Regions from separate parts of the Homo sapiens genome. Here all the other regions are linked to region 3. The links are contacts of gene promoters, found by promoter capture Hi-C in human tissues and cell types (Jung and others, 2019). All regions are on one chromosome and are shown on one strand. Each heading gives the region's core, a stretch centred on a gene start or on the middle of the fragment in contact. The rest is flanking DNA. Distances are from core to core; before and after follow the strand shown.

Evidence for each region. The method cuts DNA at HindIII sites, captures the fragments that hold promoters and counts their contacts. A contact is called where the count stands out against the background at its distance.
Region 1: a contact is called between a fragment that was not itself captured here and the fragment with the promoter of ACAN in region 3, in 4 of the 25 tissues and cell types used here (H1 embryonic stem cells, aorta, bladder and 1 more).
Region 2: a contact is called between a fragment that was not itself captured here and the fragment with the promoter of ACAN in region 3, in 3 of the 25 tissues and cell types used here (IMR-90 fibroblasts, aorta and liver).

Annotation. Positions count from the first base shown.
Region 1 is chr15:88,691,303-88,694,002 of GRCh38, forward strand. No RefSeq gene overlaps it. Among named protein-coding and RNA genes, the nearest start is that of ISG20, 54 kb to the left of the region's middle. The HindIII fragment of the contact is 5,407 bases long and covers 1-2,700 here.
Region 2 is chr15:88,723,042-88,725,841 of GRCh38, forward strand. No RefSeq gene overlaps it. Among named protein-coding and RNA genes, the nearest start is that of ACAN, 79 kb to the right of the region's middle. The HindIII fragment of the contact is 6,960 bases long and covers 1-2,800 here.
Region 3 is chr15:88,802,018-88,804,717 of GRCh38, forward strand. It overlaps ACAN (aggrecan), which reads left to right and starts at 1,419. Exons shown (of 19, transcript NM_001369268.1): 1 at 1,419-1,792. LOC105370960 (a long non-coding RNA gene) reads right to left here and starts at 1,501. Exons shown (of 3, transcript XR_001751648.1): 1 at 1,433-1,501. The HindIII fragment of the contact is 7,348 bases long and covers 1-2,700 here.

The sequences.
Region 1 (2,700 bases), core at 89-2,588, 110 kb before region 3:
AGGAGGAGACCCAAGCTCTGCAGAGGACTCTCCAGTATAAAACAGATTGGGTTTGCTTCTGTGCCACTCCAGAGAGGACGAGCACCCCCCAGGGATGAAAGTTGCCTGAAAACGAGATGGGCTGCCATGCAAGATAATGTTGTTGGAGCCTTCCAAGCCAATGCTGGTGACTACTCATGAGGGATGTTGTGGATTGATGGTTCTCAAATGTTGTTCCATGGAACACTGGTCTCTCAAGAGGCTCCATGAAGAAAGAGTTCCCTGATCATATAAGTTTGAGAAACACATCCTGCTATATTCTCCTTTCGGTAATTTGATAATGCATTTGAGATCCCAGGGAGTCCTGCAATATAAAAACCTGCTTAACTTTTTAGCCCAATGTTTCTCAGAAGTATTTTTCTCTGGAATTCCTTTATACTTAATGCTTGTTAATATCGAAATATCCTGCAGGCCTGGTAGGATACAGAGCAGAGCTTCTCAAACTGTCTGTGGTGAAGGATCAGGGTTTTGCTTGTTTTTCGTCTGTCATAAACCTATACTTTCTTAAAATAACACAAAAACGAATTACTAGAAAAAATAAAGACATGAAATACAAATCTAGATTTTTATTAGATTTAATTAACATAAGAAATACATTTCTGGCTGGGTACGGTGGCACACGCCTGATATCCCAGCACTTTGGGAGGCTGAGGAGGGCAGATTTCTTGGGCCCAGGAATTTGAGACCAGCCTGAGCAACATGGTGAAACCCTGTTTCTACAAAAAGTACAAAAATTAGCCAGGTATGGTGGCACCCATCTGTAGTCCCAGCTACTAGGGAGGGTGAAGTGGGAGGATCCCTGAGCCTGGGAGGTTGAGGCTGCAGTGAGCTATGATCATGCCACTGCACTCCAGCTGGGTGACAGAGTGAGACCCTGTCTCAAAAAAAATTACATTTCAATAAATAAAACCAGAACAAAAATAACACGAACAAAGAAAATAATTACAAAACTGTACATGTTGTCCATTGAAAGTGTGTGTTTAGACAGTTTCTATAGAGAATTGCTATTACAGTCATATCTTTCCGTCATTCTGCAATCATAATGAAACAGTATTGGACAGGACTCACACTTATGTAGTCAATTGATTTTCAACAAAGTTGTCCATGCAATCCAGTGAGGAAAGACGAGTCTTTTCAACAAATGTTGCTGGAACTGAATATCCATGTGGCGAAAAAATAAACCTTGACCCATACCACATACCATGCACACAAATTAGTTCAAGACGGATTACAGTCCTAAATGTAAATGTTAAAATTATAAAATTTCCAGAAGAAATACACAAGAATATATTCATGATTTGAGAGTAGGCAGAGGACACAGACAGCAATAACCCTAACAGAAAAAAAAGATACATTATATTTCATTAAAATTAAAAGCTTCTGCTCACAAAAAGATACTTTTTTTTAAATTAAGACAGAGTCTCACTCTATTGCCCAGGCTGGAGTACAGTGGTGTGATCTAAGCTCACTGCAACCTCTGCCTCCTGGCTCAAGCGATCCTCCCACCTCAGCCTCTTGAGTAGCTGGGATTACAGGTGCGTGCCACCACGCCCGGATAATTTTTGTATGTTTAGTAGAGACAGGGTTTTGCCATGCTGGTCAGGCTGGTCTTGAACTCCTGACCTCAAGTGATCTGACCGCCTCGGCCTCCAAAGGCGCTGGGATTATAGGCATGAGCCACAGCGCCCGGGCAAAAGACACTTCTAAGAAGATGAATAAGTGAGCCAGAGACCGGATAAAATTATCTGCAAAACATATATCTTAGGTGTAGGTAAACAGGTGAGTAAACTTATCTCACTCTCAGGGCTCACATTTGCAGTACTGCCCCAGTGCCAGAGGCTTCCAAATAGGCAACAGCATCCCCTTGGGGCACGGCTGACACGTCTGAGTCCTAACAGTGACACCCGATATTCATCATCATGGTCCCCTTTTGTTTATATGACTGAAGTAGTTTGGGAACCCCATTGTATGACCCTACATGGAAAGTGACTATTGAAACCTTTGGGAAGGTGGATTGCTATTGCATTCTCCAACATGCAGACTAAAACCCTTTCTAGAGAGTTGACTGTGGTCTGGGGAGTGCACCCTGAACAAGTGAGAGTTTCCTTCCTGACCCAGGGCCTGCTGGAGGGTCGGGGGTAACTTGCCACAACAAGCAGCAAGGGGCAGGGAGAAGTGAGTCTTGTCTGTGTAGACAAAGAGAGGGAGCCATCAAGACAAAGAATCTGTCAGGGACAGGGCATCCCGGCCTGATATACTGCAGTAAGCATCTGGGACTTAGTGGGAAGCCATTATGGAGTTGTAATCAGGAAAGTAACAAGAGTTTCTCCCAGTATTGGAAAGTGGCAGATTCCAATCAGGGATGTTCCAGAAAGTGAGAAGGGGACCTTGAGCTCCAACACTCTCTTTTTTTTCTTTTTATAATTTTTTATCTCTAGTCACTCACTGTGGTAGCAAACACACTTTTACTGTAACCAGGTCATATGTCTGTTGTCAGTAGGTCCAACCTAAGAACTGAGTTGCCCATTTTAACTTCACAATGACCGTGAGGCAGAAGAGATGAGGGGCCACAATCCTTGTGTGAGGTGGAGAAATGGCCCCTGTAGATGGGTGAGAAACATGGAGTTTCCTGCAGAATAAGGACCAGCAAACAGGGAGTGC
Region 2 (2,800 bases), core at 138-2,637, 79 kb before region 3:
AGTGGAGACAGGGTTTCACCATATTGGCCAGGCTGGTCTCGAACTCCTGACTTTGTGATCTGCCCTCCTCAGCCTCCCAAAGTGATGGGATTACAGGCATGAGCCACCTGCCTGGCCTGTTCTGACTTTTATCAACACACATTAGTTTTTCCTCATATAAATGGACCAACGAGTATGCATTCTTTTATCTCTGTCAACCTTTCTTCAACATAATGTTTTTGAGATTCTTTCGTATTGTTGTGCATCAATAATCTATTCATTCTTCATTCAAGAATAATTCGTTCTTCTGATTGCTGAGAAGTATTCCATTATGCGGATGTGCCACAATTTGTTTATCCATTCAGGGACATTGGGTTGTTTTCAGTTTGGGGCTATTATGAATAAAGCTGCTATGTTTTTCAACAAACGTTCCATTGCTATTCATGAGGGAAAATTGTCTTGCAATAAATGATACTAGAGCAATTGGATATCTATTTGGAAAAAATTAACTTTTACCCCTAACTTATACTTCATGCAAAAATTAATTCAAAATGGATTATAGGCCTTAAGTTGGGAGGGTAAAACAGTCAGTCTTCCATAAGAAAACATAAAAAAAGTCTTCATGACCTTGGGGAGAGCAAGAATTTATAAACAGGGCATAAACGCATTAATCACTAAAGAAAAAAAAAGAACTTTATTAATGTCCTTTATCCAAAGACATCACTAAGAAAATGAATAGATAAGCCAAAGACTGGGAGATGTTTGTAATACATATATATAACTGACAAAGTAGTCCTGTTAAAAATATTTATTTTTGAAACTCCACAAGTCAATAAAAAGAAATAACAAAAAAATAGGCAAAAGATTTGAATATTAACAAACGCTATCCAAATGTCTATTAAACTTGTAAAAAAAAAAAAATACCCAGTATCGGGCCAGGTGCGGTGGCTCACGCCTGTAATCCCAGCAGTTTGGGAGGCTGAGGTGGGCGGATCATGAGGTCAGGAGATCGAGACCATCTTGGCTAACACGGTGAAACCCTGTCTCTACTAAAAGTACAAAAATTAGTCGGGCATGGTGGCAGGCGCCTGTAGTCCCAACTACTTGTAAGGCTGAGGCAGGAGAATGACATGAACCCAGGAGGCAGAGCTTGCAGTGAGCAGATTGCGCCACTGCACTCCAGCCTGGGGGACAGAGTGAGACTCCGTCTCAGAAAAAAATATATATATATCATTCATCAGTGCAAACTGAAGCCATAATGAGACATTACTACAAACCCACCAGAAAAAGTGAAATCAAAGACTGACAAGGGCTCGGAGCAACTGGAACTCTCATCTATGGTTGGTGGGAGGGTAAATTGGTTCAAGCACTTTGGAAAAATGTTTGGTCGGGTCTACTAAAGGTAAACAGCACTGTATGACCCAGAAATTCCACCTCTGGGTACAGAGCCAACAGAAAGGAGTCCAAATATTCACCAAAGAGACATGCACAAATATGTCTATAGAAGCTTTATTCATAATACTCAGCATACTTTAGTCCAGATAAAATAATAACGTAATCTTCTTCTTTTTTCTTTTTTTTTTTGAGACAGAGTCTCACTCTGTCACCCAGGCTGGAGTCCAGTGGTGCAATCTTGGCTCACTGCAACCACCGCCTCCTGGGTTCAAGGACTCTCCTGCCTCAGCCTCCAAAGTAGCTGGGACCACAGGCACCCATCACCATGCCCAGCTAATTTTTGTATTTTTAGTAGAGACAGGGTTTCACCACGTTGGGCAGGCTGGTCTCGAACTCCTGACCTCAAGTGATCCACCCACCTTGGCCTCCCAAAGTGCTGTGATTGCAGATGTGAGCCACTGCACCCAGCCTGTAATCTTCTAAGAAGAGTTCAGCCATAGATTTGAAAGGAGAAGGGCACCGAAAGGGCCACGCAGAGGGCTACCCGCCTCAGTTCAGGATGGAGACAGATAAAAGTGAAACAAAAGCAGGTGGTCCCTGGAAGGGCACTGCTTATCTGATTAACCTGGAGGTGAAGGTGGGAGGTCCTGGTCCAAGCTACCTAAGTAAGTCTTCTCAAGTTACATTTGAGTGTGAGAGCAATGGTCTACTAACGGTGCTCTGCAATTACCTCTTGCATGTGTAAACAGAGTGGATGTGCCCTGTTGGAAAGGACAAGGGATCTACCAGAGAAGCCAGGGAGAGCAAGGTCTCTGAGGGGAACATCTCCCTATTTAGGGTCCCAAGTGGGCACCTACTATTCAGTGAGACCCTTGCACACTGGCTGTAGCTCGCTGGTCCCAAACCACAGTGGAGCCAATTCTGCTTCCAGAGAACTGGATCTTTAGCTGCCCACTGCTCAACCATGCTGCAGCTCTTCTCCTCCCACAAATACTGCCAGGGAAGGACTGTGCTGATGGGGTTCTGGACAGGCAGCTCCATGTCTACCCACATTGGTCGTGCATGACACTGCATGCCCAATATGAAAGCAGCAAGAACCACATTCAAACACAGAATGGAAGGGCTGTTTGACAAGAAGATAAACAAGCAAGGCCCAGTGCAGGCACTGTGGTTTAGAACCCACAGGGAAGGGACACACATGAAACTTGGTCCTGTGTAGTGACCTGGGTCTTCCACAGGAGATATTTGGACAAACCTCCCACCTCAACACACCACAACTTCACTAAACTTTACCTCCTGGTGATAGGGGAAGAACCAAAAAAAAAAAAAAAAAATCTGTCATTTTTAGTAAGAGGAACTATAGAAAAATACTGTTCGGAAAAAATAGAAATTAATATAATGTGTTCCTGTTTTACAAGTAAACAGT
Region 3 (2,700 bases), core at 169-2,668:
ATCAAGAATGGCCAACCACTGGAACACTTTAGCCATTGCTCTGAGAGGTGGGTGGATAGAGTGGGCACTATGCTCCCTCCGACGGGGCTTCACTGCCCTGGACAGGGGAGAGACAGGCGGCTCACAGAGCATGTGCTGGGCCAGGGCCAGTCCCGCCCCCAGGCAGAGATGGCCAGTAAAATAACCACATAATTCCAGTGGAGTCGCCCTGGGGAAACCGAGGCACTTCAGTTCCTTTTCATCAAGGAACTGATTAAAGTGTGGTCTATTATCTCTGTAGTGGGGAGTCCCGAAAGATTCCACTTCTTCCTCTTCTTGCCCAATGAGAGGGTCAGGAAGCTTCCACCACCATCCTGACTGTGGCCACCACATCCTGGTGTGAAGCACCACCAGCTTCCTCCACAAGAACTCTGAAGGTCACCAGCCAGCTTGAGTCCTCCGAAGGTGCTGTGGCTCAACCAGCAGCCTGTGTAGCAGAGAGCACAAGACCTGGGACTCGAACTCAGTCCCACCTTCAAGAGGGATCTCCACCACTTTCTGAGCCTCAGTTTTCACATCTTTGGTTAGGGGCAGGTGGGAAGTTGCCATATTTACCTTGTTGGGCTCTTTGGAAAAATTAAATGAAATGTTAATGTATGTTACACAACGGGCTCATAGGAGGGATTCAAAAGCTGCTAGTTCTTTTTCTCCTTTTCCTGAAAACGGTATTAAAGAGTACTGTAGAGACACTGGAGAATTCCTGCTTCATATGAGATGTCCTTGGTCTCTCCCGGGGAATTTGAAGACCCAGAGACTCGCAGCTCCCCGTGAGCCTCCCCGCTGACGCCTTACCTCCCCCTCTCCACCATCCCCTGCCATCCCGGTGTACGCCACCCCCAAAAAAACTTTCAGCCAGCTCCTCGGTGAGGGTCGTTCCAAATCGTGGCCGACAGTAGCGGGCTGCACCCTCCTTAGATCGCGTCGTGGCCAGCCTCAGCTGCAGAACCCCGCCGGGCGCCCGGGAGCCCTGTCCCGCCGCGGCGGCCTCAGAGTCCGGGCACTTGGGGATTCTCTGAGGGTGCAGCCCTCCTGGGCCCCTCCGACTGCGGAGCTGCCGACCGCAATGCAGATGCGGGCCCTCCAGCCCTTCTCGCGCCGCCTTCCTCCCGCCAGCCCCGGAGCTGCCGGGTCCGCGCCGCCCCGGGGAGCGCTCCTCTCCCGCCCTGAGCGCAGGCCGGCTTCCCCATCGGCGCGCCGGTCCGGAGCCAGGGTCCAGCGCGCTCCAGACGCCTCTGCCTTCCCCTCCCCCTGTCGGCCGCCCCTCGGTCCCTGGGGGTGGGGTTTCCCTTTGCGCTCGCCCCCTCCCGCCCCCACCCCTCACGGGCCCTCCCCTCCCCCGCCCGTCCCTATGTATGTGTCACAGCGCGCCATGCCCGCCCGCCCGCCCACCTACCTCCCCGCCGCTCCAGAGGGGGCTCGCAGAGCTGAGGACGCGCGCAGCGCTGCTCAAGGTCTCTCTCTCTCAGCACCCTCGCCGGCCGGCGTCTGACGCGGGTGCCAGGGTCTCCGGGCACCTTTCAGTGTCCATTCCCTCAGCCAGCCAGGACTCCGCAACCCAGCAGTTGCCGCTGCGGCCACAGCCCGAGGGGACCTGCGGACAGGACGCCGGCAGGAGGAGGGGTGCGCAGCGCCCGCGCAGAGCGTCTCCCTCGCTACGCAGCGAGACCCGGGCCTCCCGGCCCCAGGAGCCCCCAGCTGCCTCGCCAGGTGTGTGGGACTGAAGTTCTTGGAGAAGGGAGTCCAACTCTTCAAGGTAACTGTCTCCTTCCCTCCAGAGCGAGGCTCTCCCAGGGCGCCCGGCGAGCCAGGAACGGGACTGAGACTGCACGCCCCGGGGCTGGGGGCTGCACTGCCTTGGTCTCCGCCCTAGAGCTATGTGTGCCGGGGGCGCAGCACATCCACCGGCTGCGTCCGCGGTGGAGTTGAGCAAACTTTTTGGCTGTTGCAGACTCAGTGAATGGGGCAAAGGAACACGTGAGGAGGGGCACTTGTCTCCTAGTCCGCCAGGATGAAGGAACAAGGGAGCCTTTTCTCCAAACACCTAGGTGATTTTAAATCCTAGGGTCTGGAAAGACCCATGGTTGACAGAGTAGCAGCTTCAGAGTCAAGGGAATGTGGGTTCAAATCCCCGAGGTGCTACTTTTGAGCTGGAAGGTGTGCTTCACCTTCCTGAGCCTTGGCCTGCCGTCTGTCAGCTGAGAGGGAAAAGGCCTTCGCGGGGTCTGGAAGAATAAATGAAATCATATGGACACTATGTCAGGGACACAGCGGGTCCTAAGCCGAGGCTAGATAGTCCATCCTTGGCCACTTGGCTTACTCCAGGGACCAGAGTGCCTGAAGAGTCTGCCCAGGGGAGAGTGGCAGAACCTGGGACAGAGCTACTGAACTGCCAGCAGGGGAGAGGAGAGCAGTGCCCTGAACACACGGGTGTCCAACCAAGAAGGGGCATTTCTCAAGGAAGAAAGGGGAGGGGAGTTGAGGACACACGACCACGAGCGGTTTTTCCGTCTGTGGGTTCCTCTTCAAACGAAGCCAATGCTGGTGGAGCAGGAGCCCTTTCCAACCCTGGGGCTGGGTTGGAGGCTGTCAGTATGTCAACTGAACCACACTCTGGGCAGAGCAAGCTGCGGGGGTGGGGGCTTGTCTCTGGTTGTGAGACAG